Regions from separate parts of the Homo sapiens genome. Here all the other regions are linked to region 1. Evidence: promoter capture Hi-C in 16 types of primary human blood cells and fetal thymus (Javierre and others, 2016). All regions are on one chromosome and are shown on one strand. The core of a region is centred on a gene start or on the middle of the fragment in contact, and the rest is flanking DNA. Distances in the headings are between cores, read along the strand shown. Region 1 holds the start of POLR3E (RNA polymerase III subunit E). Region 2 holds the start of LOC105371125 (a long non-coding RNA gene). Region 3 overlaps ANKS4B (ankyrin repeat and sterile alpha motif domain containing 4B). Region 4 overlaps ZP2 (zona pellucida glycoprotein 2).

Evidence for each region. Contacts are between HindIII fragments. The CHiCAGO score rates a contact against its expected background, and 5 or more counts as called.
Region 2: a contact is called between a fragment that was not itself captured here and the fragment with the promoter of POLR3E in region 1, in 1 of 17 cell types (erythroblasts). The highest score is 5.9, in erythroblasts.
Region 3: a fragment that was not itself captured here is called in contact with the fragment with the promoter of POLR3E in region 1 in 1 of 17 cell types (erythroblasts); the score reaches 6.6 in erythroblasts.
Region 4: a contact is called between a fragment that was not itself captured here and the fragment with the promoter of POLR3E in region 1, in 1 of 17 cell types (erythroblasts). The highest score is 7.8, in erythroblasts.

Annotation. Positions count from the first base shown.
Region 1 is chr16:22,293,549-22,300,825 of GRCh38, forward strand. It overlaps POLR3E (RNA polymerase III subunit E), which reads left to right and starts at 3,861. Exons shown (of 21, transcript NM_018119.4): 1 at 3,861-3,989. It overlaps TRL-AAG2-4 (tRNA-Leu (anticodon AAG) 2-4), which reads left to right and starts at 3,592; the gene lies at 3,592-3,673. RefSeq lists silencers at 3,482-3,931, 4,942-5,081, 6,940-7,234 and enhancers at 3,605-4,149, 4,592-4,731. The HindIII fragment of the contact is 19,375 bases long and covers 1-7,277 here.
Region 2 is chr16:21,288,135-21,295,098 of GRCh38, forward strand. It overlaps LOC105371125 (a long non-coding RNA gene), which reads left to right and starts at 2,336. Exons shown (of 3, transcript XR_950905.3): 1 at 2,336-2,368; 2 at 3,044-3,204; 3 at 5,121-5,825. It also overlaps a transcript of CRYM not described here. The HindIII fragment of the contact is 3,512 bases long and covers 1-3,408 here.
Region 3 is chr16:21,248,096-21,254,987 of GRCh38, forward strand. It overlaps ANKS4B (ankyrin repeat and sterile alpha motif domain containing 4B), which reads left to right. Exons shown (of 2, transcript NM_145865.3): 2 at 1,636-5,755. The coding sequence ends at 2,725. Among named protein-coding and RNA genes, the nearest start is that of ANKS4B, 18 kb to the left of the region's middle. The HindIII fragment of the contact is 220 bases long and covers 5,031-5,250 here.
Region 4 is chr16:21,190,644-21,198,160 of GRCh38, forward strand. ZP2 (zona pellucida glycoprotein 2) reads right to left here. Exons shown (of 19, transcript NM_001376232.1): 18 at 7,123-7,206; 19 at 6,807-6,979. The coding sequence ends at 6,837. Among named protein-coding and RNA genes, the nearest start is that of ZP2, 17 kb to the right of the region's middle. RefSeq lists an enhancer at 4,362-4,511. The HindIII fragment of the contact is 402 bases long and covers 5,989-6,390 here.

The DNA.
Region 1 (7,277 bases), core at 2,611-5,110:
TAAAGGGGTTATTCCTCATTCAGCTTTGAACTCCCCACAATGCCTACCCTTTGTCTTCAATCCATGGCTGCTTCTGTATTTTTTTTTAATGTCTTGAAGAGCAACAAACTTTTCTAGCACAAGAAAATCTTTGCATATCATTACATATGTTAAAGGTAGATGGATGGCCAGGTGTGGTGGCTCACTCCTGTAATTCTAGCACTTTGGGAGGCTGAGGTGGGAGGATAGCTTGAGATCAGCCTAAGCAGCAAAGCAAGACCCCGTCTCTACAAAAATACAAAAGTTAGCCCAGTGTGGTGGCGCGTGGCTCTAGTCCCAGCTACTTGGGAGGCTGAGATGGGAGGATCATTTGAGCCCAGGATGTCAAGGCTGCAGTGAGCTGTGATCATACCACTGTACTCCAGCCTGGGCAACAAAGCAAGACCCCGTCTCTCTAAAAAAAAAAAAAAAAAAGGTGGTGGATGGAGGGGGAGAAAAGCCAGGCTAAGGAGGGATTGAAGAGGAAAGACATAAAATGCCCAAATGTTAGGGGTGTGTACCAACTGGATATTAGCCAGAAACTTGAATCATGGCCCTGAAAAGTCTAATACCAGTCAATGCAAAATGAGAATTCTACTTATAAAAGTGTGATTTATATAGTTTTTGATGTGTCTAAAGCATCACCAGCGTTCGTAGAGTTCCTGCCTAATTCCCCCATTCAGTCACCTTAAGCATTGACTCCACTCCCTGTGTTGAACAGAACTAATGGAGAAAGTAATCCACGTAAATGACAGAGGGAAAGAGAAACGATAGAGAATGATAGAGGACAAAACCTTAGATATGAGGGATATTTGAGATTTCTTACGCCAATAAATGTGAAAAATCAAGTAATGGGGCTTTGTTTTCCCAGAAAACGACAACTTGCCAAAGTTGACTCAGGAAGAAATAGAAAAAAAAAAAAAGTCATCAAAAGTCATATAATTTGGCAAAATGGAAAAATATATGCATATCTATATCTATATAGAGAGGGTCTCACTCTCTCACCCAGGCTGGAGTGCAGCACCTGAATCTCGGCTCACTGCAGACTTGACCTCCCTGGCTCAAAGGATCTTCCCACCTCGGCCTCCCAAGTAGCTGAGACTACAGGCACATGCCACCATGCCCGGCTAATTTCTTTTCTTTTGTTTTTTGGTAGAGACAAGGTTTCTCGATGTTGCTTAGGCTGGTCTTGAACTCCTGGCGTCAAGCAATCCTGCCACCTCAGTCTCCCAAAGTGCTAGGATTATAGGAGTGAGCCACTGAGACCAGCCTATTATTAATATTATTATTATATAATACTAGGGAAAGTATAAATATAGACCAGCAATTTCATTTCTAGTGTATACCCTAGAGAAATGTCCATACGTAAGACAAGGAGCCATGTGCAAGGATACTTCCTGCCATATTGTGTGTAATGACAAAAATTTAGTAACAACTTAAAAGTTGTACATGGCATGGAATGAATGAATTAGATCTATAGGCATCATAACAGACCTCAAAAACATAATGTTGGGCCTGGCACAGTCTCTCATGCCTGTAATCTTGGCTACTTGGGAAGCTGAGGTGGGAGGATGGCTTGAGCCCGGGAGGTCTAGGCTACAGTAAGCTATGATTGCACCACTGTACTCTAGCCTGGGTGACAGAGCAACACTCTCTTAAAATAATAATAATAATAATACTGTTGAAATGAGAAAAGCAAGTTTTAGGATATCAGTACAATGTGCTAACATTTATATAAGTGAAAAACATACAGATAACCATTTTAGATATTATTCATAAATTTTATAGTAAAAATGTAAGAAATTATTGGAAAGATACACATCAAATTCATGACAGTTATAGACAGGGGAGAATGGGAGGGGGACTTATTTCTATTTGCAATGGTCTAATAATTTCTATTTGTAATAGTGTGATCTATTTTTTATTTATTTATTTATTTATTTATTTATTTATTTATTTATTTATTTGAGACCGAGTTTCTCACTGTCGCCCAGGCTAGAGTGCAGTGGTGGGATCTCGGCTCGCTGCAACCTCCGCCTCCCGGGTTCAAGCAACTCTCCCGCCTCAGCCTCCCGAGTAGCTGGGATTACAGGCATGTGCCACCACGCCAGGCTAATTTTTGTATTTTTAGTAGAGACGCTTGAACCCAGGAGGCAGAGATTGCAGTGAGCGGAGATCGCACCACTGCACTCCAGCCTAGACAGCAAGAGCGAGACTCCACATCAAAAAAAAAAAAAAAAAAAAAAAAAAAAAAGAAAAGAAAAAAGAAAAGGAAAAAAATGCCACAATACTAAGTCATTAATTTAATGCCAGGTGGTGGCACTATGGATGATAATTTTTTTCTTTGTAATTTTTGTGCATTTTTGTTTTTAATATCTTTGCATATCCACACGGATAGGTATTTTAAAATACAGTCTGGTGAAAAATAACAGCCAATTGCAGATCTATATGAATAATGTGACAATATTTGTGTTCAAATCCATACACAATAAAAACAAAGCTATCTTCTATGGCTATATCTATATATATCCATATAGATATAAACATATAAATTCACAGCAAAAGATCTAGAAAGATATATAGTGTTTTAGTCCATTTTCTGTTGCTTATAACAGAATACCTGAAACTGGGTAATTTGTAAAGAAAAGGAAGTTATTTCTTACAGTTATGGAGTCTGAGAAGTCCAAGGTCAAGAGTGTGCATCTGGTGAGGGCCTTCTTGCTGGTGGGGGACACCTGCAGAGTTCCCAGGCAGTACAAGCCATCATATGGAGGGGGTGCTGAGCTGCTCCCTTGCTAGCTAAGGTCTCTCTCCCTCTTCTTATAAAGCCATCAGTCCCCCTCCCAAGATAACCCATTAATCCATTAACCCATTAATCCATGAATCCATGAAGAGATTAATCCATTCATAAGGGCTCCACCCTCATGATCTAATCACCTCTTAAAGGGCCCACCACACAATACTGCCACATTGGGGATTAAATTTCCAACACATGAAATTTGGGGGACACATTCAAACCATAGTTCATATTAAACAGATAATAATGGTTAGTTACCTCGGCGGAGGGGCCTAGGATGCGAGTCAAGGTCAAAGAGCATTTGTACCTTATCTGCAAAGTTTAAATATTTTGCAATAATTCGCGTGTTATTTGTGTAAGTAAAAATTTAAACATAATTTTTCAGAGACAACTGCCCAGACCAGCTCCAGGGTTTGGCCGTCAGATCCCCTGGTGCATGTTTCTGATCAGATCAATTTCTTCTCCCGGAGACACCCAATCCGGGTCGTATGGATTACCTGTGGGTTAACCAGGGGTCTCCGGGTTAACCATCCAACTCAGAGTAAAGTTTCTAAAAATGCGTTTTGCTCTAATACCTATTCGGAACCAACCTGGGTCTAAAGACTGGAGCAAGTGTTTATTTTCCAAAACACGGCTTTTTAAAATAATTCTATAGGGATCACCTTGAACACACGTTAAGCAAAAAAAAAACCTCAGCGAAAACGCCTCGCAATGTCCAGATTAAATGCAAAAGCAAAAGCATTAAGTAGCTTTCTGGCATAAACATATTGCAGCTGGGTAGCGTGGCCGAGCGGTCTAAGGCGCTGGATTAAGGCTCCAGTCTCTTCGGGGGCGTGGGTTCGAATCCCACCGCTGCCAGGGTTGCTGTCTTTTTGTCCCCGCTGCATACACTCCTGGCTCAGTTTTGCGCGTGCCATCAGCGCCCCCTGCTGCAGGGCGGGGCTCACGGCCTGCATGAATGGCGCGGCGGAGGGGGCGGAGCCGCGTGCACCGGGGCGGGGCATTGTGGGTAAGAGGAAACGCTGGGGCCGGCCCGCTCCCCCCCACGTGTCCGCCGGAGTTTCTCCACCAGCAACATGGCCGCCGCCTGAGAGGAGAGCCGGGCCGCCGCCGTCTCTGCAGCCCGCGGGTAACTGGGCCGTTGCCGCCGTCCGCGCTCGGCCCCCGCGGAGAGGTGAGTCCCGTCTTGGCAGTGCCCGAGCTGGGGCTTGAGCCGGACCGCACTCACGACGTGGGCCTGGGCTAGATTCCCGAGTAGGCCAAGGAGGCCCGCGCCGCGCTGTGCCTAGCAGCTGGAGGCCTCTCGGGACTCGGGCGGGGAGGAGGGGCAGCCGGCTCCAGGCCGACCCCGGACTCTGACTTCCTTGACCTGACACCTGGGAGTTGGGGAGGCCGCGGCCGACGCTGGCGGCGGTGACTCAGGGTCCAGCCGACCTGCCCTATCCGGGCCTGGGAGGCCTCCTACGGAAGAAACACCTGTCCGCGCGTCGGGTGTAGTGGCGGCTCGCGGCAGGGACTGCGTGGTGGGCGTGAGAAGGGGGGCCTGACCACCCGCGAGGGAGCAGAAACCCATTGGACAGCGAGGCTCGGGATCGGCGGCCCGCCCCGATGGGCAGGGAGGGCACCTGCGCCTGCCGGAGCCCCCACTTCGCAGCTGAACCGGATTAGCCTCTGCCCGGCGAGGCCAGGGATTCCTCATTCATTTATTCAGGCAACCATTCAGTGTTTACCGAGCCAACTCTGTGTTCCGGATACAGCCCTGACCATTCGGTCCGAGGAGGTGTCAGTAAACAAACAAGGTCGTTCCTTTGGGTTAGCTTTAGAATTCCTTGGGCTTGGAGGCGGAAAGAAGAGATCTTAGCGATCTCCACAGTTTCCTCATCTGTGAAATAGAGATAATAGAAATTCCTACCTCATAGGGTTGTGGTGACGGCTCAGTAGAAACCGGGTGACGCTCCTGCTTGCAGCGTTTGACTTGTGGCTTAGCGTCATTACCCGCTTACGTTGGCAGAAAACATGTTGTCAAGTAATAACAAACCTTCCCAGAGGTTACGTTTATTAGCGTCCTGTCCTTACTCCTTCCCCGCAGGGGTCTGGAGGTCGGTACTTAGTTTCCCTACTTTAGGGATGAAAATAGGGAGGAATACCAAACCCAGACAACTCAGGTGGGTCACAGATGCCAAGCAGCTGTGGTGGGATTTGAACCTGCACAGTTTTGTTCTCGGGTCCAAGCTCTTACCCACTTAACCATACTGCCGTTTATCAGAAAACCGTGCAGTATAGTGGTTAAGAATAAGAATAAGGATCTTTGACATAGCGAGACCCAAGTTTCTGTCCTCATTCCACCTTGGATGAGTTGCTTATATCTGAACCTCAGTCTCGTCATTTCCAAATTGAAGATGATAAATCTCTATTGATAGGGCTAATGAGAAGATTAAATATAAAGTATTCTTTGTACTATATTGAGTGTCAACTTCGTGCCAGGCACTGTTCTAGGTATTGAGAGAACCAGCACTGGATTTTTTTTTTAAAGTAATGCTCCCCATAACAGCTTTGATGAAGTAAAGTATGATTGTCTGCATTTCATAGTTGAGGAAACTGAAGCACTGAGAAGCCTTCATGGAGCTTACGTTCTATTGCAGAAGACAAACAACACCTGAGCAAATAGACCAGGTAGTTCCAGATTAAGATGAGACCCACCAAGGAAAGAAAACAGAGATGTGGTAGGGCCTGGGAGGAGGCTGGGGGAGGCTTTTAAAATAGGGTGGTCAGGGAACCTATCCTCTCCTGCAGGCGGTGATGATATTTAATAAAAAGGAGCAACCTTGGAAATCCCTGTGGGAGAATAGATGATGTGCAAAGGACCTGGGGTGGACTGGGGCTTGCCTTGTTGGAGGCCCAGCAAGTGGCTACCAGCCTGGATGGTGAGGGGAAGACAGAGACAAGATTATGTAGGGCCTTAGGTGGCTCATGGAAAGGAGTTTGGGTTTTATTTTATGTGACAGTGGCAGTTGACAGGTCTTAGGCAGGGAAATAATATGATTTACTTTTTTTTTTTTTTTTTTTTTGAGATGGAGTCTTGTTCCGTTGCCCAGACTAGAGTGCAGTGGCAAGATCTCGGCTCACTGCAACCTCTGCCTTCTGGGTTCAAGTGATTCTTCTGCCTCAGCCTCCCGAGTAGCTGGGATTACAGGCGTGCATCACCACGCCTGGCTAATTTTTGTATTTTAAGTAGAGACGGGGTTTCACCTTATTGGCCAGGCTTTTCTGGAACTCCTGACCTCAGGTGATCCGCCTGCCTCGGCCTCCCAAAGTGCTGGGATTACAGGTGTGAGCCACCGTGCCTGGCTTTGTTTTCCCCCCAGTAGAGATCGAGTCTCACACTGTGACCCAGGATGGAGCGCAGTGGTGTGATCATAGCTCACTGCAGCCTCAAACTCCTGGGTTCAACCAATCCTGCTGCCTCAGCTTCCCAAGTAGTTGGGACTGCAGGCCATGCCAGGCTAAAATTTTTTTTTAAAGAGAGACCGGGGGGCGGGGGGCGCCTCACTATGTTGCTCAGGCTGGTCTCGAACTCCTGGTCTCAAGCAGTCCTTCCACCTAAGCCTCCCAAAGTGTTGGGATTACCGGCATGAGCCACCATGCCAGCCTGATTTACTTCTTTCCAAAGACTCACTGTTGCTGGGAGACTTGGAGGTAGGTATAAGGAGCCGTAGGGAGACTTGGATGAGTGCTTTTCACATTGCAGGTTAAAATTTATTAGTGGGAAGTAAAATCAATTTAAGGGAATTGAAGCTAGCATTTTTTGTTTTGAATGAAGTAGAAAACATCACGGCCTGACATATAGTAGGGACAGTTATAGTTACGTGAAACCTTGTTTCAGTTATGCAACTGTATGTATGTTCTGGGTTATTTATATGAGATGGATTTCTTACTGTGGTGGATCTTAGGCTGAAAACTTTGAAAGCCACTGAGTTGGATCACCTCGGCCTGGAGGATGAAGGGAGGTGACACTCTTTGTATCAACCCAGATGTACTATCCAGAGGAAGGAGCTCCAGCTCTCTAGCTGACAGGGCACCTCAGCCTCCCTGATCCCTGGCAGGGCAGAGGCCAACAGGGCATAGCAATAGCCAAGAAAGAACAATTGCGTCTTGGGAACCTCCCAGGCCCCAGCCTCTCAGTTGTCCACTGCCCAGCTGCAGAGAAGGCAGGAGCTTGACATATCTGTGGCACTTGGCAGCCGGTGCAGATGGGGTGAGGCCTTGGGCTCTCCGCTCTACACTGCCCTCTGTCTGCACAGCAGACAGTCGAGATGCACTGAAACTGTCCAGATGCGACTCCTGATTTTCATTCCATCCTCCATCTCTGGGACTGTTACGATAGCTGTTTCCCTGAAGTTTCTCTTTCTACCCGCTCCATGTCTTCCTCTGCCCGAAATCCTTCTGTAGCTTCCTATTAAAT
Region 2 (6,964 bases), core at 403-2,902, 1.0 Mb before region 1:
AGAGAATAGGACAATTGGTTGTTTATTTAAAAACCAAACAGGAGGACCAATGTAAATTATTCTTTAGATGTTTGGTGGAATTCACCATTGAAGCCATCTTATCCCAACCTTTTCTTTGCTGAGAGGTTTTTAGTTACTAATTAAATATCTTATTATAGGTCTATTCAGATATTTTACTTGTTCTTGAGTTAGTTTTGTAGTTTGTGTGTTTCTAGAAATGTGTCCTTTTCATCTAGGTTATGAATTGTGTCCTTTTCATCTAGGTTATCAATTGCCCTACATTTGTTCATAGTATTCTCTTGTAATGTTTTTTAATTTTTGTAAGATTGGTAGTAATGTCTTCTCTTAGTTTCCTGATTTTAATAATTTGAGGCTTCTTTCTTATTTTGGTCAGTCAATATAAAGGTCTTTGATTTGTGTTGATTCTTTAAAGGGATTGTATATTTTCCCTGGCCTGTTGTTTTTACATTCTCTATTTATCTCTGTTTTAGTCTTTATTATTTCCTGCCTTCCACCGGCTTTGGGTTTGGTTTGCTCTTCTTTTTCCAGTTTTTAAGGTGGAAGACTAGATTATTTATTTGAAATAGTTTTAAATGTAAGAATAAATGTGAAAAAACTAAACTGCTTTTCTTATAAGTTTTGGTATACCATATTTTTGTTTTCATTCATGTCAAAGTATTTTCTAATTTCCCTTATGATTTTTTATCTGACTCATTTGTTGCTTAAGTTTGTATTGTCTAATTTACACATATTTGTGTATTTTCAGATTTCCTTCTGTTACTGATTTCTAATTTTGTTCCATTGCAGTCATAATAAGATGCTTCATATTATTTCAGTTTTTTATAATTTATTAAGACTTGTTTTGTGGCCTAATTAATGGTCTGTCCTGGATAATTTTTTTATGTACACTTGAGAAAAAAATGTGTATTTTGTTATTGTTGGGTAGAGTATTTTATATATACCTTTAGGTCAGGTGGTTTATTTTGTTGTTCATATCTTATATTTGTTTGATCAATGTAGTTGTTCTATAATTATTTAAAGTGGGGTATTGACATCTCCAACTACTATTGTTGAAAGCCCTTAAATCTGTCAGTTTTTGCTTCATATATTTTAGGGCTGTGTTGTTAGGACCATATATGTTTGTTACTGTTGTATCTTCTTCATGAATTAACCCATTTAATAGTATATAATGTCCTTCATCTCTTATAACCGTTTTTATCTTAAAGCCTATTTTGTCTGACATTAGTAGAATCATTCCAGCTCTCTTTTGGTTACCGTTTGCATTGAATATATTTTTCTGTCTTTTAAACTTTTATTTGTGCCTTTAAATTTAAATTGAATCTGTTGTAGGTAGCATATGGTTGGATCATGCTTGTTAAAATCCATTCTGCCAATCTCTATCCTTTAATTGGAGCAGTAATCTATTTATATTTAATGTAATCACTGATAGGGAAAGACATACTTCTACCATTTTGTCATAAGAATGTCATAAGAATTTACATATTAGGTGCAAACTTACCCTCTACCTCCTCACTCAGGTGACACCCTCTCTTCTGTCAAAGTGAGAGTTGAAGCCAGCTGGGCTGCTGGCACAGGTGCCCGGCTTTTATTCCCTTATTTGGCCCTGCCCACATCCTGCTGATTGGCCCATTTTACAGAGCGCTGATTGGCCCATTTACAGAGTGCCGATTGGTCCATTTTACAGAGTACTGATTGCCAGCTGGGCTTCTGGGTGGAGTGGGGACTTGGAGAACTTTTGTGTCTAGCTAAAGGATTGTAAACACACCAATCAGCACTCTGTAAAATTGCACCAATCAGCACTCTGTGTCTAGCTAAAGGATTGTAAATGGACCAATCAGCACTCTGTAAAATGGACCAATCAGCACTCTGTAAAATGGACCAATCAGCACTCTGTAAAATGGACCAATCAGTGTTCTGTAAAATGGACCAATCAGCAGGATGTGGGTGGGGCCAAATAAGGGAATAAAAGCTGGCCACCAGAGCCAGCAGTGGCAATGTCGGATCCCCTTCCATGCTGTGGGAACTTTTTTCTTTTGCTGTTCACAATAAGTCTTGCTGCTGCTCACTGTTTGGGTCCACACTACCTTTGTGAACTGTAACACTAACCACGAAGGTTGTAGGCTTCATTCCTTAAGTCAGTGAGACCACGAACCCACCGGGAGGGACAAACAACCTGGATGTGCCACCTTTAAGAGCTGTAACACTCACTACAAAGGTCTGCAGCTTCTCTCCTGAGGTCAGCAAGACCACAAACCCACTGGAAGGAAGAAACTCGGGACACATCTGAACATCTGAAGGAACAACTCTGGACACACCATCTTTAAGAATTGTAACACTCACCGCAAGGGTCCGTGGCTTCTTTCTTGAAGTCAGCGAGACCAAGAACCCACGGGAGGGAACCAATTCTGGCCACAAAAGCATCTTACAAATATGCTTTTTGCTCAGACTTATAATTTCATCTTTTTTTCCAGTAATTTGAACTCAGTCTTGAAGTCTTACAGTGACAGTTCAGAGCCTTACCTCTTAAACATGTTTCTTATTTACTCATATATATTCATAAACTGTTATACATATTTAATTTAGTATTTAGAGGAATCTCAGCATCAAGTTTGTTTCTCTGAGGATGTATGTCCTTTCAACTGATGATATATTCCTTATCCTCTTTCCACTGTTGAGTCCTAGGCTACATTTCCTATCACATCTTTGCTTTTTCATTGGTTATATAAAATAAACGGTATGAGAAATAATCAGCATTGGTTTCTTGTTCGCATGAGATGACAGGAAGACAGATGATATGGACATCAGCTTTCCCAAAAGGATTTTCCAAAGCTGTAATTATCAACACAAACTATGTTTCAAGAAATCAGGGGTAGTATACTTTATGCTAAAAACGGAGGGTTTGTGAGAATAATGTTACAGCTTTTAATTTTCTCTGTTTAATTTTATCAACTTGGGAGACTTTTGTTATCCTGGGACAGTTCATTTCATATAAAGCATGCTAACATTATCTTTTTCATTGCAGATTGGAATAATACTTTTAAAAACTTTCTGCTTGATTCATTCCTGCTGGTACCCATTTATAACCTTGGGATGAGCATCAGCAAATACTATGATATCCAAGAGGTGAATATGTTGTGTTCCTGTTGAAAAGTATTCCTAACTCCATAAATTACAGTACAGAAAGTGAGTATCTGAGGCTCTACAAATCTCATCAGAGCTACTGGTAGTCAATTACTTATTACATGTGAATAATTCTACCTACATTACTGTGAATCTTGACAATAACTCAAGTTATATGTTATCCTCATTTTGAAAAAACTAAACCTTACACAATGTAAAAACTTGCTCAACACCACAAAATTTGTACAAGATAGCACTAAGATTCAAAGCTTATGTGCATAATGCATTTTCTCTGTGGGAAAGAATCTCTGTGATTAGTATCTATATTGTATTATACATTAATCTCAATAGAGGGGAAAGCACTTGAAAAAATTTAACACCCTTTTATGATGAAACTTCTCAACATCTTTGCATGTGCTTATTTGCCACATGTGTATCATCTTTGGTGAAGTGACCGGTGAACTTTTCTTTCATTTATTGTTGAATTGGTCTTTTTTCTTACTATTGGGTTTTGAGAATTCTTTGTACGTTCTGAATATCAGCCCTTTGTGTAGTAAGCCATTTGCAAATATTTTGTCCCAGACTATGGCCTTTTATTTTTTTCAAAGCATCTTTTAAGAACCAAACGTTTTTAATTGTGGTGAAGTTAAATTTATCATTTTTTAGTGAATTGTGCTTTTAGTGCTATATCTAAAAAACTTTGCCCAATACAGAGTCACAAAAGCTTGATTGGATGTCTTCTTCTAGAAGTTTTACTTAAGAGAAATGAAAGCATATGAACATAGAAACACTTGTATGCAAACATTCATAAATAGCTTTAATTATAAAGGCCAAAAATTGAAAATAACCCAATGTCCATCAACATGTGAATGGGTAATCAAACTGTGAATTATTCATACAATGGAATACCCTCAGCAATAAAAATGAATGATCTACCAAAAAAGAGACTTTTCAGCAAAGGAGGACTAGAATGAAACATCTTCACTTTGAGTAAGGAAATCTAGAAATATCTATTGCTAATATCATTTTCAAGGCAATACCATTGTGGTAGCATGAAATACATAAAACATTTAGGGAAAATTTTAAAAAAGATGTGCAGTACCTGTACACTGAAGACTGAAAACATTGCTGAGAAAAATTAAAGATGACTTGAGATAATGGAGAAATATACCTTATTCATGGATCAGAAGACTCAATATTTTTAAATTGTCAATTGTCCCCAAATTGATTTATACGCTCAAAACAATCTCAATCAACATCCTAGAGGCTTTTTATTTTTGGTAGAAATTTAGCTGATTCTAAAATTTATATGGAAATTCAAAAGAACTTCATTATCCAAAAATATATATTTTCTTAATTGCAAGATTTTGTGACAACTCATTTTAAAACTTATTATAAAACTACAGTAATTAAGACAATGTGGTATTAACATAAGTAGAGACATAGATGACAGATGGATGGATGGATAGATAGATAGATAGAATAAGATACAGAGTTCAAAAATAGATTCACACATGTATGGCCAATTGATTTTGGATTCAAAAGAACTTTATTATCCCAAACTATACTTTTTTAATTGCAAGACTTTGCACCAACTTATTTGAAACCTTATTATAAAACTACGATAATTAAGACAGTGTGGTATTAGCATGAGTAGAGACAGAGAAGATAAATGCATGGATGGATGGATGGATGGATTGATGGATGAACGGATGGATGGATGAATGAATAGATGGATAGGTAAGTAGATAGAAGATAGATAGATAGATAGATAGATAGATAGAATAAGATACAGAGTCCAAAAATAGATTCATACATGTATAGTCAGTTGATTTCAGATGAGGTGCCAAAGTAATTCAAATGAGAAAGGATAGTCATTTCAATTAGTGGTCATGGCCCTAACCTGTAAAAGCTTGTGATTATTTGATACCTAGCAAACAGACAAATAAAATCCCTATAACCTCTTAACTCTATCCCAGTAGGAAGAAGGTTGTGAAAACTGTGCATTCTAAAAGACAGCGTAGATTGAAACACCCACTTTGGATGCACCAAGGGAAAAGCAAATCTGAGTGCTACAGGAGACAGTGAACAAGGGAATCTCTCATAGAGAGCAGGTGAGGATTCTGCAGAAAAGAGAATACGGAACACAGTGGCAACAGCGGTAGATCCATCATGAGCTGGGAAATACTGAAAAAAATCTCTGAGAACTAGACCTAGTCAATCAAAATCCTGGTTATAGGGGGAAATAAATAAAGAGGCTTGAAAATGTGCAAAGCTATAAATGTTAATCTTGAGAGATATTAATTTGGAGGTTAGAGAGAAGCAACTTAGAAAATAGAAGTGCCCTTTAGAATTAGGGTAGCAAAGAGAAATAAGGACATGTCCAGCATAATTTAACTTCATACAGATATTAGCAAGAATCACAGAATTGAGTCGCTTCATTCCCTTAGAAAAAGTTCTATTTGTTAAAGAAACTGCACTTCACTGTATTAATAGAAGAAGATGAATATGTACTAAGAAGCTTACAAACTAATCAAAATATTACCATTCATCCATTAAATCACTTGTTATTGTTGGTTCAGATAATCAATTTAATATGCCATAAGAAGGAAACAGAAGAATATCAAAATACTTCAATTGATGAAAATTCCTGTCCCTCACCTGCCAAAGGAAACTAACCACAAAGCAGAGGGAAATAGTAACTAAGTATCAATATACGGGAAACTGGAGAACAATTTGTCAGCAAAAAGGTAGAATACGCATAACTTCTCATTACCATCTCACAAAAGCTTCAAAAATTAGCAGAAACTGTCTGAACCAATTTTGTCAGGACTATGGAAAACAATCAAAAGTTTATAGCAACCAAATGAATACTGAACCAATAAAAAAGTCACTTCAAAACAGTGGATAGTTTTGTGATGATTTTACACGCCCTTGCCCCTCTCCCTCCCTGGCACAGGAGTGGTCGTGGTCTTGAAGCAGGAGTAGTCTGCAGTCCCAGTTTTGGACCGTTTTCCCTGGCTCTGGAGGGTGCGGAGCAGAATTTATTCGCAAATTATTATTATTTTTTTAAATTTACTTTAAGTTCCGGGATACATGTGCAGAATGTGCAGGTTTATTACATAGGTATACATGTGCCATGGTGGTTTGCTGCACCTATCAACCTATCATCTAGGTTTTAAGCCCCATGTGCATTAGGTATTTGTCCTAATGCTCTCCCTCTCCTTCCCCGCCACCCCCTGACAGGTCTCAGTGTCTGATGTTCCCCTCCCTGTGCCCATGTGTTCTCACTGTTCAACTCCCACTTATGAGTGAGAACATGCAGTGTTCGGTTTTCTGTTCCTGTGTTAGTTTGCTGAGAATGTTGGTTTTCAGCTTCATCCATGTCCCTGCAAAGGACATGATCTCATTCCTTTTTTTTTTTTTTTCTTTTTTTTTTGAGACAGTCTTGCTCTGTTGCCCATGCTGGAGTACAGTGGCGCGATCTCGACTCACTGCAACCTCCACCTCCTGGGTTCACACCATTCTTCTGCCTCAGCCTCCCAAGTAGCTGGGACTACAGGCACACACCACCACGCCCAGCTAATTTTTTTGTATTTTTAGTAGAGACAGGGTTTCACCATGTTGGCCAGGATGGTCTCGATCTCCTGACCTCGCAATCCACCCACCTCAGCCTCCCAAAGTGCTGAGATTATAGGCGTGAACCACCACACCGTGCTGATTTCATTCTTTTTATGGCTGCATAGTATTCCATGGTATATATGCACCACATTTTCTTTATCCAGTCTATCACTGATGGACATTTGGGTTGGTTCCACGTCTT
Region 3 (6,892 bases), core at 3,891-6,390, 1.0 Mb before region 1:
AGTAGCATGCTGGAACCAGCTTGTCAGAGTTATTTCCAAATTTTAGAAAGTTTGACAGCTAAATATAGCCATTCTTTCTTACTTTTTATTTTTATTTTAAAAAAAAATTTAATGGAGGCAGGTCTTGTTATGTTTCCCAGGCTGGTCTTGAATGCCTGGCCTCAAGCAAATCTCCCACCTCAGCCTCCCAGTGCTGGGATTACAGGCACGAGCCACTGAGCCTAGCCTTTTTTTTTTTTTTTTTTAAGGCAGGGTCTTGCTGTGTTGCCCAGGCTGTAGACAGTGGTGCAATCATAGGTTACTGTAAGCCTGAGCTTCTGAGAACATAGCCATTCTTAAAAATAAAATTACAGGCTGGGCGTGGTGGCTCACAACTGTAATCCCAGCACTTTGGGAGGCTGAGGCGGGTGGATCACCTGAGGTCAGGAGTTTGAGACCAGCCTGACCAACACGGTGAAACTCCATCTCTACTAAAAATACAAAAATTAGCTGGGTGCAGTGGTGGGTGCCTGCAGTCCCAGCTACTCGGGAGGCTGAGGCAGGAGAATCGCTTGAACCTGGGAGGTGGAGGTTGCAGTCAAGCCGAGATTGCACCACTGCACTCCAGCCTGGACGACAGAGCAAGACTTCATCTCAAAAAAAATTATATAAACTTATAATTTAACAAATTATATTAAAAAGATAACACGAAAGTCTCACTTTCTACTTATTTTAATACATTTCACTCTTACCTGTCTCTTAAGATGATTCATGTCCATTATATCTACATGGGGGAAATAGTTGATAATGGTACGCTACTGTGTATCTCTTCCAAACTCTGTCCAGTGATGTTACATTGGTAGCTTGAAATTTGCCATGGTGGATGTATTTACACCACAGAAATTGGCACATGCTACAAATTAGGATTTTGATGTTATTATTTTCTTGATAAGCCATTGAACAATCCTATCCCTAGTTTCAGGGCAAAATCTAATTGATCTAAGTTAAACACAATAGTATGTTTCCCATCTCTTAGGCGTGTAACCTAGTGCTGGCCAATGAGACAAGAAAGTTGTTTGGCTGGAGAATTTCTTAGTAAGTTTTTCTCACTTCTAAAAAGGAGACACAGCCAGGCACGGTGGCTTACACCTGTAATCCCAACAATTTGGGACGCCAAGGCAAGCAGATGGCTTGAGGCCAGGAGTTTGCGACCAGCCTGGGCAACATGGTGAAACCCTGTCTCTACAAAAAATTAGCTAGGTGTCATGGTGCATGCCTGTAGTCTCAGCTACTCAGGAGGCTGAGCAGGGAGAATCACCTGAGCCTGGGAGGTCAAGGCTGCCAATGAGCTGTGATCACACCATTCCACTCCAGCCTGGGAGATAGAGTGAGAACCTGTCTCAAAACAAAACAAAGGAAACAAACAAAAAGGAGACACACGGTAGAGATGGGCTCTGTTTCTGGCCATGTGGTTTTAAGATGGGATGGTTCTAAGACAGTTGGACTTGCAGCCAGTATCTTATAACAATGTCAAGTCAGGATGAACATGTTTGTATTAACGTGCCTTTTGTTCTTTATTTTTGTTTTGATTTTTTTGGGCCTGCGTTCAGAGAAAAAAAGTCCAACATGTATTTTTTTTCTCTCTCTCTCTTCTAGAGGGGACCCTGATAGGTGTGACATCTGGGGAAACACTCCTCTACATTTTGCAGCCTCCAATGGCCATGCCCACTGCGTCTCATTCCTGGTCAACTTTGGTGCCAACATCTTTGCCCTGGATAATGACTTACAGACTCCACTGGATGCTGCTGCCAGCAGGGAGCAGAATGAATGTGTTGCTCTCCTGGACAAGGCTGCCACTGCACAGAACATCATGAACCCCAAGAAGGTCACCAGGCTGAAGGAGCAGGCTCAGAAGAATGCCAGGAGGCAGATCAAAGAGTGTGAGAGGCTCCAGGAGAAGCACCAAAATAAGATGGCCCACACCTACAGCAAGGAGGAATCCGGGACTCTCTCTTCTTCCAAGGGTACCTTCTCCAGATCATCCCCTTCAAATGCTTCTGCTCCTGGCACATTCGGGTCACTATCTAAGGGCATTAAAGACACTTTCAAGATCAAGTTCAAGAAGAACAAAGATACAGCAGAACAGGTGGGGAAGGAAGGCAGAAGTGGGCAGAGGAACGTGATGGAAGTGTTCAGAGAGGAAGAGGAAGACTCGTTCTCAGGGGACTTCAAAGAGAAGCTCCAGTTGTCAGCAGAGGAGGACGGCAGTGTGCACCATGAATCCATTCTCAATCGTCCAGGTCTAGGAAGTATTGTTTTTAGAAGGAACAGGATATCGAGTCCTGAAGACATCTCAGATAGCAAGAGAGAGTTTGGTTTTAAACTGCCCAGTGAATTGCTTCAAAGACAAGGAGCATCAGAGGCTGATGAGGGTGCAGCTGATGAAGAGGGAGAGGAAAACGGCCTCAAAGATGATCTGCCGTGGGATGACGATGAAGTGGAGTGGGAGGAAGATGTGGTCGATGCCACGCCCCTGGAAGTGTTCTTGCTGTCTCAGCACCTGGAAGAATTCCTGCCTATCTTCAAGAGAGAGCAGATTGATCTAGAAGCTCTGCTGCTCTGCTCTGATGAGGACCTTCAGAGCATACAAATGCAGCTGGGTCCCAGGAAGAAAGTTCTGAATGCTATCAACAGGAGGAAGCAGGTGCTTCAACAGCCTGGGCAGCTGGTCGACACCAGCCTGTGATGGAGAGTTTTGGCCTGGAGCATTGGGGTGATGCTGTGGCCCGCTGGCAGCACTCCAGGCGGCACCCCCTCTTTACCCAATGCCAGACCACTGGGAATGGATTCTAGGGCATCGGAAATGCCTACCTGAGAGAGAGACCCAAACTTTACTCTGGGAGGTAGGCTATGCCCATCCAAATAAATCTCCATGAGAAACTTGAGGAGACTTCATAACAAGAATCTGGCATTTCTCTTCAGTTATCTTATATGTACATATAATTGTTTTTGTGGTTGTTTTGTTTTGTTTTGTTTTGTTTTTTGGAGATGAAGGTCTCAGTCTCTTACCCAGGCTAGGGTGCAGTGGTATGATCATAGTTCACTGTATTCTCAACCTCCTGGGCTCAAATGATCTCCTCCCACCTCAGCCTCCCAAGTAGCTGAGACTACAGGTTCACACCCCCCACACCTGGCTTATTTTGTATGTTTTAGTAGAGGTGGGGTCTTGCCACATTGCCCAGGCTGGTCTCAAACTCCTGGCCTCAAGCAATCCTCCCACCTCAGCCTCCTAAAGCACTGGGATTACAGGTGTGAACCACCGTACCCAGCCTATCTTTTTGATACTTTTGAATAAAGAAAGGGTCATATGCATGACAGGAAAATGAAAGAAACTTCCTTTACTTTTCTATCTCTGGATTTAAAATTATAATCTCATCACATTATCCTGCTGCTTGCTTTCCGATCTGTGTAACCTGGGAATTCCAATTCTTTTTCTCTCCTGAGATCTATGACTTTGCCTAGTGGTAGAGACTAGAGTTCTTTCCTGGCCTGCGGCTTGATGCCCAACTTAAATGCATCTAACCCTTTAACAAATGTGTACATGTTTACAAGTAATGGAAATGCGTCTATAATACTCCTGCCTGAGAATAGAGACAGAGTGGTGGTGGGGAGAGTGAAGAAAGAGATAGAATACAGGTGGTACCTGTTGTGGACTGAATTGCGTCAAATTCATATGTTGGAGCTCTAACCCCTAATGTGACTGTAATTGGAAATAAGACCTTTAAAGAAGTGATTAAGGTTAAATGAAGTCATAAGAATGCAACCCTAATCCTGTAGGACTGGTGTCCTTTTTTTCCCTTTTTTTTTTTTTTTTTGAGATGGAGCCTTGCTCTGTCACTCATGCTGGAGTGCAGTGGCGTGATCTCAGCTCACTGCAACCCCCGCCTCCCAGGTTCGAGCACTTTTCATGCCTCAGCCTCCTGAGTAGCTGGGATTACAGGCGTGCACCACAACGCCTGGCTAAGTTTTTGTATTTTTAGTAGAGGCGGGGTTTCACCATGTTGGCCAGGCTGGTCTCAAACTCCTGACCTCAGGTGATCCACCTGCCTCGGCCTCCCAGAGTGCTGGGATTACAGGCATGAGCCACTGCACCTGGCCTAGGACTGGTGTCCTAAGAAGAGGAAGAGACACTTAGGTGGAAGGCACACAGAGAGGCCACGTGAGGACACAGTGAGAAGGTGGCCGTCTGCAAGCCGAGGAGGGGGCCTCAGGAGAAACCAACCCTGCAATCACCTTGATCTTGGGCTTTCAGCCCCCAAAGGTGTGAGAAAATAAACTTCGGTTGATAAACTGCTGTTGTTGAAGCCATCCAGTCTGTGGCATTTTGTTATGGCAGTCCTAGCAGAATAATACTGTCCTAAGTAAGAGGGTTGGGGAGGAGACCAAGAAAAATACAGAAAAAAAGTCTGTCCAACTGCAATTGATGAGTTTTGTAAGGGTAAACACCTAGTGAAACTTAAGGGGAAAAAAAACTAAGTTCTTTGGAGGGAAGATTTGATTGTCAAAGGAAATTTCACATTTTCATGCTTATTATGTACACATGGTTTATTTACTGTTGTCTGTCACCATTGCCGCATATCTGAATATGTGTAGGTTCCACGATAGAAACTGACAACACTTGGCTCATGCCTGTAATCCCAGCACTTTGGGAGGCCCAGGCAGGCAGATCACCTGAGGTCAGGAGTTCAAGACCAGCCTGGCCAACATGGCGGAAACCCGTCTCTACTAAAAATACAAAAATTAGCCAGGTGTGGTGGCGTGTGCCTGTAATCCCAGCTACTTGGGAGGCTGAGGCAAGAGAATTGCTTGAACCCAAAAGGTGGAGGTTGCAGTGAGTTGAGATTGCACCACTGCACTCTAGCCCAGGCGGTAAGAGAGACTCCATCTCAAAAAAAAAAAAAAAAAAAAAGAAAAAAGAAACTGACAACACTGCTGCTGACATTTTTTCAATGGCAATCCCAAATTCAAACTGAAACCCCACTGAAGAGCTAAGCTTCATTAGATCTCTACAGGCTGACTTACATCAAGTGGAATTTACTGTTGATTCTGGGTATAATACAGAAACAGCTGTTTATCTTCAGCTTGCTTTCTGATGCACATCTGTTTGGGTTACTTCAAGAGGCATCATGGAGGATTCAAGTTTAGGGAGGATACAGATGCTCAAATCTGATGAACAATTGGCTTATTCTTCCTCAATGAATATATTCAGAAAGCTTGTTAGCCATTGAATAAACACGTTGCATTAGGGGATGATTGTTTACAAATACCTTATCTTGTGGAATAAACTGAAGTTGTGCTTTCCTTCATTAACGTGCACAGAAGCAGTTGGCAAATAGAAAGTGCTCAAAAAAGTTTGTAGTCTGTGCCTGCCACTATTATATTTCATCATCATAGATGCCAGAATCCCCTCTTCACCTATTGCCCGGAATCTGCCTAATGAGATATTTGCTCCACCCCCTGCTGTAACTACATCATAGCAAGAGAGCCATCACTCAGGTTGGTAGAAATGAACTTGAACATTGACTCTCATCCCTTTTTAGGAGATATTTGCCACTAGGGGTCTCATCAGGTACCTCTATGCTCTTCTTAGGGGTTCTTTTCTTTTATGATTGACAGAATTAATAGGTGAGCGTTCTCCAAAGTTCTCAGCATCAAGGATATAGTCTCTTCGTCACAGAGTATTGTTATATAATAAAAAAAGGTTTATACCATGTTATAAGATGTTATCAATGTTCTAAGAATTCCAGATCTTTCGAACTAAATACCAACTACAGGGGCTAAGAGAAGATGCCAGAGCAATACAAAGGCCTTGATAAGAGACAAAGACAAGAGGATTATGAGCCAGGATGAGCTTCAAGTACTCACTGATCTCAGACCTCCATCTCTTAAACTAGATGCTTAGAGTAGCTCAATCCAATATCTGGTCACCCCTACCACCTCCTGGCCCCTCTTTTCCCCCTCTATGTAGCTTGACATAAAAGTCAACAAGAGGGAAAAGCAGCTGGGAGCATTTCACCGAAGAGGAGAGTTTGAGAAGTTATAGTGTGGTAAATGTGTATTGTGCTTATATTTCAGGCCATTGTGTAGTACAGGTCAGTTATATGCTCAGAATTCCTAAGTCCAAGTTACCAGCCCAGACCATTGCTTTGGGCACCAAATACTTAAGCCCAAATCTAATCTGACATCTCCTCTCACATGTCTCACAAGTACCCCATACTCAGTGTGTCCAGGACTGAACCCATTTTCTTCCAGGTTGTCAGTTCTCAACTTGGATGATTTTGCCCTCTGTCTCCTAGAGGACATGTGGCAATATCTAGAGACATTTTTTGATTGCCATGATAGGGGAACAGTGGTGCAACTGACATCCAGTGGGTAGAAACAATGGGTGCTAAACATCCTAGAATGTACAGGACAGCCCACCACCACAATGAATTATCGAGACCCAAATAGTGATCGTGCTCAGTTTCAGCTGCATTAAAACATGCAGCTCTAAATCTTCATTTTTCATAAATGGAAAATTTAACCCAATACTTCTTTTCATCACCCAATTGGTCACCAGGCCCTTTCAACTTTTCAATATGTCTCAGAGCTAAATCCTCTTTGATGTTTGCAAGATGACCTATTGGTTCCTGCCCCCAACCATCACTCACTGGATTGCTGTAAGTATCCTTATCTGTCTTTAATTCATTCTCCACAAGGCTGGTTGAGTCACGTAATCTTTTTAATATGTAAGTCTCTTGTCACTTTCTACTTTACTGTTGCTTTTTTTTTTTTTTTTTTTTTAAGACGCAGTTTTGCTCTTGTTGCCCAGGCTGGAGTGCAATAGCACGATCTCAGCTCACCGCAACCTCAG
Region 4 (7,517 bases), core at 4,940-7,439, 1.1 Mb before region 1:
AAGGAGGATTTAGTTAAATCTGGAATCTCAGTCAGGGGTTCATACTCTTGAGATAAGGAAAAGTAACCAATGCTGCCTAACAGCCCAGCACCCACACTGCAGTCCCTAGACTTAGCAGATGGAACTTGCTATAATGAGGACCATATGTATTCATTTGCTAAGGCTGCCATAGAAAGTACCACAAACTGGGTGGCTTACACAACAGACATTTATTTTCTCACAATCCTGGAAGCTGGGAGTCTAAGATCAAGATGCCAAGCAGGCTTGGTTTCTCCTTGGCCTGTAGAGAGCTGTCTTCTCCCTGTGTCTTCTGCCTGTGTCTGAATTTCCTCTTCTTATAAGGATAGCAATCCTATTGGACTAGGGCTCATCCTATTAACTCATGTTAATGCAATTACCTCTTTTTTTTTTTTTTTTTTTTTTTAGGCAGAGTCTCACTCTGTTGCCCAGACTGGGGTGCAGTGGCGTGATCTTGGCTCACTGCAACCTCCATCTCCCAGGTTCAAGTGATTCTCCTGCCTCAGCCTCCTGAGTAGCTGGGACTACAGGCCTGCACCACCATGCCCGGCTAGTTTTTTTTTTTTTTTTTTTTTTTAGTAGAGACAGGGTTTCACCACGTTGGCCAGGCTGGTCTCGAACTCCTGACCTCAGGTGATCCACTCACCTCAGCCTCCCAAAGTGCTGGGATTACAGGCGTGAGCTGCTGCACTTAGCCACAATTATCTCTTTAAAGACCCTTCCTCCAGCCATATTTTGAGATTCTGATGTTGGGACTTCAACATATCGATTTGCGGGTCACACAATTCAGTCCTCCAATTCAGCGAGCATACTTCTATTTCCTCTGCAAGTCTGATGTGCACCTTGCTTTAAAAGAGATACGATTATCATGCTTCTCATCCTAATTTTCAAAGGGCTTTCTATCATGTGTGAATCTCAGGTTCCAGTGAATGCCTTCTTCGTGTCTGTGGATGTCATCATATGAGGGTATTTTTTGACCTGTTTCTGTGACGTATTCATAGAGTTCCTGTAATCGAACAGTCATGGATCAGCATTCAGAATATATAAAGAAACCCTAAAAATCAATAGGAAAAGGACTTTTAAAATCTAGTATAAATTAAACAAAGGCTATAAACAGACAATTCAGAGGAAGGGACTGCTTCCTGCTGTGCAGATGGTCATCTTGCGGTATCCTCACATGGCCGAGAGCAGAGAGAGGAAGCTCACTCTCCTTTCTCTTCCTTTAAGGGCACTTATCCCCTTTATGAGGGCACCATCCTCATGACTTAATTAATTCCCAAAGCCCCACCTCCAAATATATCACACTGGGGGTAAGGACTTCAAAAACATATACACTGGGGGTAAGAACTTCATGTGAACTTGTTGTGGGGGGACACAATTGAGCCCACAACACCGAGAATAAGCCTGAGCACACACCTTGTGCCACAGGCTGCATGTTCTACCTTTCCGCAACCCCTGTGCTGCCCACGATGAGACAGCTTCCCACTCAACACATCATCACTTTCAAACCAGAAGCAATGTTGTGCTGTGGATTTTCTGGTTATTGACACAGTGGTGGGCACTATCAGAGGTAATTCACATCTTTGCATCCAATGGGAGAGAAACTAAATTCCCTGTTGACTTAAAAGGGAGAAACTGAGGCAGAATTAAAAGTAGAGAGTTTTTTGGGGCCAAGTTTGAGGATTGCAACCCCGGAGCATGGATTCAAGTTGACATGAGTTATAGACTCCTATTAGCAGCATTTACAAGTGGATTTCTAAAGGCAAAAAAGGGGGGACAGGGAGTGAGCTGATGCACAGTTCTTTGTCAGGAATTCTCATTGTTTTTCAGAAATAACATTGATGTGTGATTGGCTATACATTGTTAAGCTATAGGGTGTGGTTATATGTCTGGTGCAGCATTATTAGGTTAACTTAAAGCTACTTGTGGCAATAGTAAGCAGTTTCAAGAGATGGATACTTAGCTCAAGGGAGGAGTAGGATGTGATGACTGTCTCATCTTTTTTCCTTTTTTTTTTTCTTTTGAGATGGAGTCTCACTCTGTTGCCAGGCTGGAGTGCAGTGACATGATCTTGGCTCACTGCAACCTCTGCCTCCCAGGTTCAAGCAATTCTCCTGTCTCAGCCTCCTGAGTAGCTGGGACTACAGGTGTGCGCCACCATGCCCAGCTAATTTTTGTATTTTTAGTAGAGACAGGGTTTCACCATGTTGTCAGGATGGTCTCGATCTCTTGACCTCGTGATCTGCCCACCTTGGCCTCCCGAAGTGTTGGGATTACAGGTGTGACCCACGGCACCCAGCTGACTATCTCATCTTACTGTCTCTGGCCCTGATAGTTTAGAAGGACTTATATTTCTCAGATCAAAGTTCTTTTCTTTTCTCACCCCTGTCTCAGGACCTGTATTCTCAGCAATGCCTCTTCTTTCAACTACGATACATCACTGTTTGGAAATGGAACTAGTTGCAACTTAAGTGCCAAGTTCCTGAAGCTATAAACTGCTCCCCATGCTTTTAGATCCTATGTGCAAGCAACAGTGTGTGTTTGTAATGTGTTGTCTGTGATGAAGTGTGGTAGGCTCTGCCTTCACTAGCACAGTGATTTCTATCCAGGGATATGTGTCAGAGTCATCTGAGGAGCATGGATTAGTTTTCTTTCACTGCTTAGACAAATTATTACAAGTTTAGTGGGTTAAAACAACATAGATTTATTCTGCTACAATTCTGAAGGTCAGAAGTTTGAAATCACTTTCACTGGACTAAAGCCAAGGTGTCGGTGGAGCTGGTTCCTTCTGGAGGATCTAGGGGAGGATCCATTTCCTTGCATTTTCCAGCCTCTAGTGTTCCCCTGTATCCCATGGCTTATAGCCCTTTCTCCATCTCAAAGTGCATCACTCCAACCTCTGCTTCCATCATTGTACTGCTTTCTCCCCATAGTCAAAACTCCCTCTTACAAGCACACATGCAGTTATATGTATGGCCTACCTGGATAATTTAGATAATTTCCCCATCTCACCGTTTTACCTTAATTATGACTGCAAAGTCCCTTTTGCCATATTAGGGAAAATTCACAAGTCCCAGAGGTTAGCACGTGAATATCTTTGGGGCCATGATTTAGCCTCCTATAGAGCCTAAACATGCTTAGACTCCACTCCCTAAAGATTCTAGTTTAGTAGATGGTGTCTAAGTTTTTGTTTTTTGTTTTGTTTTGAAATGGAGTCTACCTCTGTCGTCCAGGCTGGAGTGCAGTGGCATAATCTTGGCTAACTACAACTTCCACCTCCTGGGTTCGTGATTCTCCTGCCTCAACCTCCCAAATAGCTGGGATTACAGGCACCTGCCACCATGCCCACCTAATTTTTTGTATTTTTAGTAGAAACGGTGTTTCACCATGTTGACCAGGCTGGTCTCAAACTCCTGACCTCAGGTGATCCGCCTGCCTCAGCCTCCCAAAGTGCTGGGATTACAGGAGTGAGCCACCATGCCCAGCTGATAGTGTCTAGTTTTGTAGGTGGTGTCTCCCTAAAGATTTTAGTTTGGTAGATGGTGTCTAGGCCAGAGGTCTGTACAATCAGGTGTACATTCTACCACATATGCACTTGATTACATATGCCTTGGTATATAGCACACAGACTTATTCAAGTCACAGTTATTGTCCATAATGTTATCTGAGTTTTTATTTAGAGTTAGAACAGTGCTATTTTCTTGATGTTGAGATACTCCAATGCTGACTGGGCAGTGCCTACATCAATACAACGGTTATCTTGTTGAACCCTCACACGCTTCCAAATTAGGTTGTGTTCCCTTTTTACAGATGCGGAAGCAGGCTCAGAGATTGTTCTATCTGCCCGAGGCCACACAGCCAGGGAGACGTAGATCCCGAACCCAAACCCAACTCTTGCTCTAGAGCCTGCGCATCCCACAGAACTTCCTAATGCAGAACAGGGCAGGGGAAAGTAGTACATTACATTACAGGTGCCTTCCCAGGGCACACAAGTCTGTTTTCAACTCCTGCAACCTCCACCATCAATCAGAACTGCTCAAACTATTAGAACCCCAAAGCTCCATCATTCTACTCTTGACACCTGTATGACAATTACAGCCCATCACTACGTGATAAAGGAGATTGCAAGCACACTAACGTGGTTGAAGCAGCAGTCTCTCAGGATTTAAGCTCGACTCTCTTCCCACACAGTTCCTGTCTGAGGAGGCTGCCTCCCCCATATATAGTAGGATGCCTACTTTCAGAAGGCAAGAACACGACTTTAGTCAACTGCTCCCAGGCTACCATGGCAACAAGTGTTCATCCCGGCAGCTGCTCCACACCAGCTTGGCTTTCCACTCTCAAAGTTCTGCTTTAGCATTTTTGGCAAACACATCAGAACCAAGTCACGCTGTGGGCTGCCTTGAGACCCAGGGGACTTTGATTCCCAATATGACTCTATACAAGTGGACCAACTTGCAGCTGAGAGGCTCTAGCTCTGAAATCAAGGGGCTGTGACATCCTGGACAAGCTTCTTTAGGGCTCAAGTTGCTCATCTGTAAAATGTGCACTTTTAAGCCATGTTTTTCAAGTTGTGGGTAGTGACTCAGTATTTTAATTTCCTATTGTTGCTGTAACAAGTTTGTTTCATGCCGTTAAGCTATCTCACAATTCTGGAGGTCAGAAGTCTAAAGTGGTACAGCAGAGCTGTACTCTTTCTAGAGGCTCTATGGGAAGATATTTTCTTGTTCCCCTACTAGAGGCGGCCTGTGTTTTCTGTGACTCTCTATCATTCCAATTTCTGCTTCCATTGATACATCCTATTCTGACCTTGTTTTTATTTTGAGACAGAGTTTCACTCTTCTTGCTCAGGCTGGAGTGCAATGTCGCAATCTCGGCTCACTGCAACCTCCAACTCCCGAGTTCAAGCAATTCTCCTGCCTCAGCCTCCCATGTATCTGGGATTACAGGCGCCCGCCACCATGCCCGGCTAATTTTTTGTATTTTTAGTAGAGATGGTGTTTCACCATGTTGGCCAGGCTGGTCTCGCACTCCTGACCTCAGGTGATCCACATGCCTCAGCCTCCCAAAGTGCTGGGATCACCGGCATGAGCCACCGTGCCCTGCTGACCTTCTTGTTTTATAGGGACACTTGTGATTGGGCCCACCGGGATGATCTTACCATGTCAAGACCCTTAGTCACATCTGCAGAGTCCATGTTGCCATGTAAAACTAATATTCACAGGCTCTAGGGATTAGGATGTAATTCCTAGACATGGGTCGGGGGTAGGTGTCATTCAGGGTCAGGAAGTCATTTAAGTGGCCATTTTTAAAAATGCCATTAAAAAGCATGGTACGTGAGATTTAGTTATGATATACAATGCAACTTGATAAAGTCACACAGAATTTTGAATCTAAAACTATTTAGCAGAATGCCTTGGATCCTTAAAAGAAGGTCCAAAGAAGGCTTTTGATGAGACAATTTGAGCTTTTGACCCTATTACTCTAGAAATGCCAGACCCTCTACATAAGGTAGGTGTGGTTCTTTCCCTACATCAGAGTCTTATCTGTAAGACCTAACCAAAGGATTTAGAAAGCTACCTTTTAAGTCTGTGTGGCAGAATTCTAGAACAGGTGCCGGGCACGGTGTCTCATGCCTGTAATCCCAACACTTTGGGAGGCCGAGGCAGGCAGATGACCTGAGGTCAGGAGTTTGAGACAAGCCTGGCCAACATGGTGAAACACCATCTCTACTAAAAATACAAAAATTAGCTGGGCTTGGTGGCAGGTGCCTGCAATCCCAGCTACTGAGGAGGCTGAGGCAGGAGAGTCACTTGAACCCAGGAGGCGAAGGTTGCAATAAGCCGAGATTGCACCTATAGAAAACCACAAGATGACCAGATAGACATCACGATATTCAACCTCAAGGTTAGATTTTTGAAAAACCCAAGAGTATAATGACTGAGCTGACATTTAAATCCAGCCACTAGAAGCTTTCATCACTTATTCTTCCTGCCATACGTAGATTTGAAATATTTCCTTGCAAAAATTTTAGACTCAAGTTTTCTAGAATACAAGTGAATTTCCATATATCTTGAAGGTCTCTAAGAGCTGCAGTATAAAGCAGACACTAGTCATGTTGATGACATAATTACTTAGAATAAGACTGGCTACCCTCAGGACGAAGGCCTCAGGAGACGGTCAAGATCGAATGCAGGTAATGGAAAACTCACTCTAGGCTCAGTTGAATGGTGGAGTCTGATTCTTGGAATGTTATAACTGAGCCTTAGGACTCTGGCACTTTAGTATTCCTTTCCCTACCAAAGAAAGATTGCTTGTCTTTAGTTATAAGTGGGAAGGTAACTAAGTCCTTTTAAGCTCAGGAAAGTTGTAAGCTTGAGTGTAACTTGAGTTAGGAATTACCTTGAAGTAAGTTCTTATATTACTTTCTTAGGAACATCTGGTTTCCCTTCCCTTAAAAGAAGGGGGGTTGGATTTATGCCAGTGATCATGGGTAGCTTGCTGGCTTCTTATCCTGTGTAAGAGCTTGTAGACTCAAGTGTACCCCCAGAGCTGGGCTATAGCTAAAGCCCTACTGTTGACTGGGAGTGTCAGAGGACTCATGTATTGGGGTTAGAGGATCAGAAGGGGCCAAATGACAGGAAACAATTATACCATGAACTTCCCTATTTGTATCTATATACAAATCCTGCCCAGAGGATTGTGGCTAGGTACTGCCTCTACACTGAGGAACAAAAGAAATGATCCCTTGTCATCTAATCTTAATAAGAATGTGGAAGGCAAGAGGCTTATTTTGACTGCTTTATTTAGAAGCCCATTTAGTGATTTGACACAGTCCTTTTCTCGTACAGGTAGTAGATGAAGCCTAGAGTTGCCACCACACCTGCAAAGGCAGCCACAGCAGCCACAGCTTTGGAACCAACATCTCCAGCAGTCTTGTGCCCTTTGGTGTCCATAGCACCTACAAAGGAAGCAGACATTTGAGTCTTAAGTATTTTTAAATAAGGGTAAGTGGAAGCCTTACATAAGGCTCCCCAGAGAAGGGGGTAAAACTAAGCCTTCAACAGGCTTATTTCAGAAGTTTGCAACATTGAATAAACTTACCTCGTGAGCCAACCTCCTCCCCTGTTTCACTCCTACTCTTCTCCCCACTGCTCCCACTTGCTTTTAGATCAGATGAGCCGACACCTGGGAAGAACCTGAGAGTTTAGTACAACATCTTCATGCTAGTCGATGTGGTTAGCTGTCCCCTGAGGGTGTGATCCCACAGGTTGTTCATTAAGGCTATCTCAGGTAAGGGTATGTGTTAACAGGCACAAACTAATACACACTTAAGTTTGGCCATAGCATGTTAAGATGCACATGCTCTGACCTAATCTTGCTAGAAACATATCTTAAATCTTTGACTACTATACAAGAAATTCAAGAGGATTTTTTTTTTTTTTTTTTGTGGCCGGGTGTGGTGGCTCACACCTGTAATCCCAGCACTTTGGGAGGCT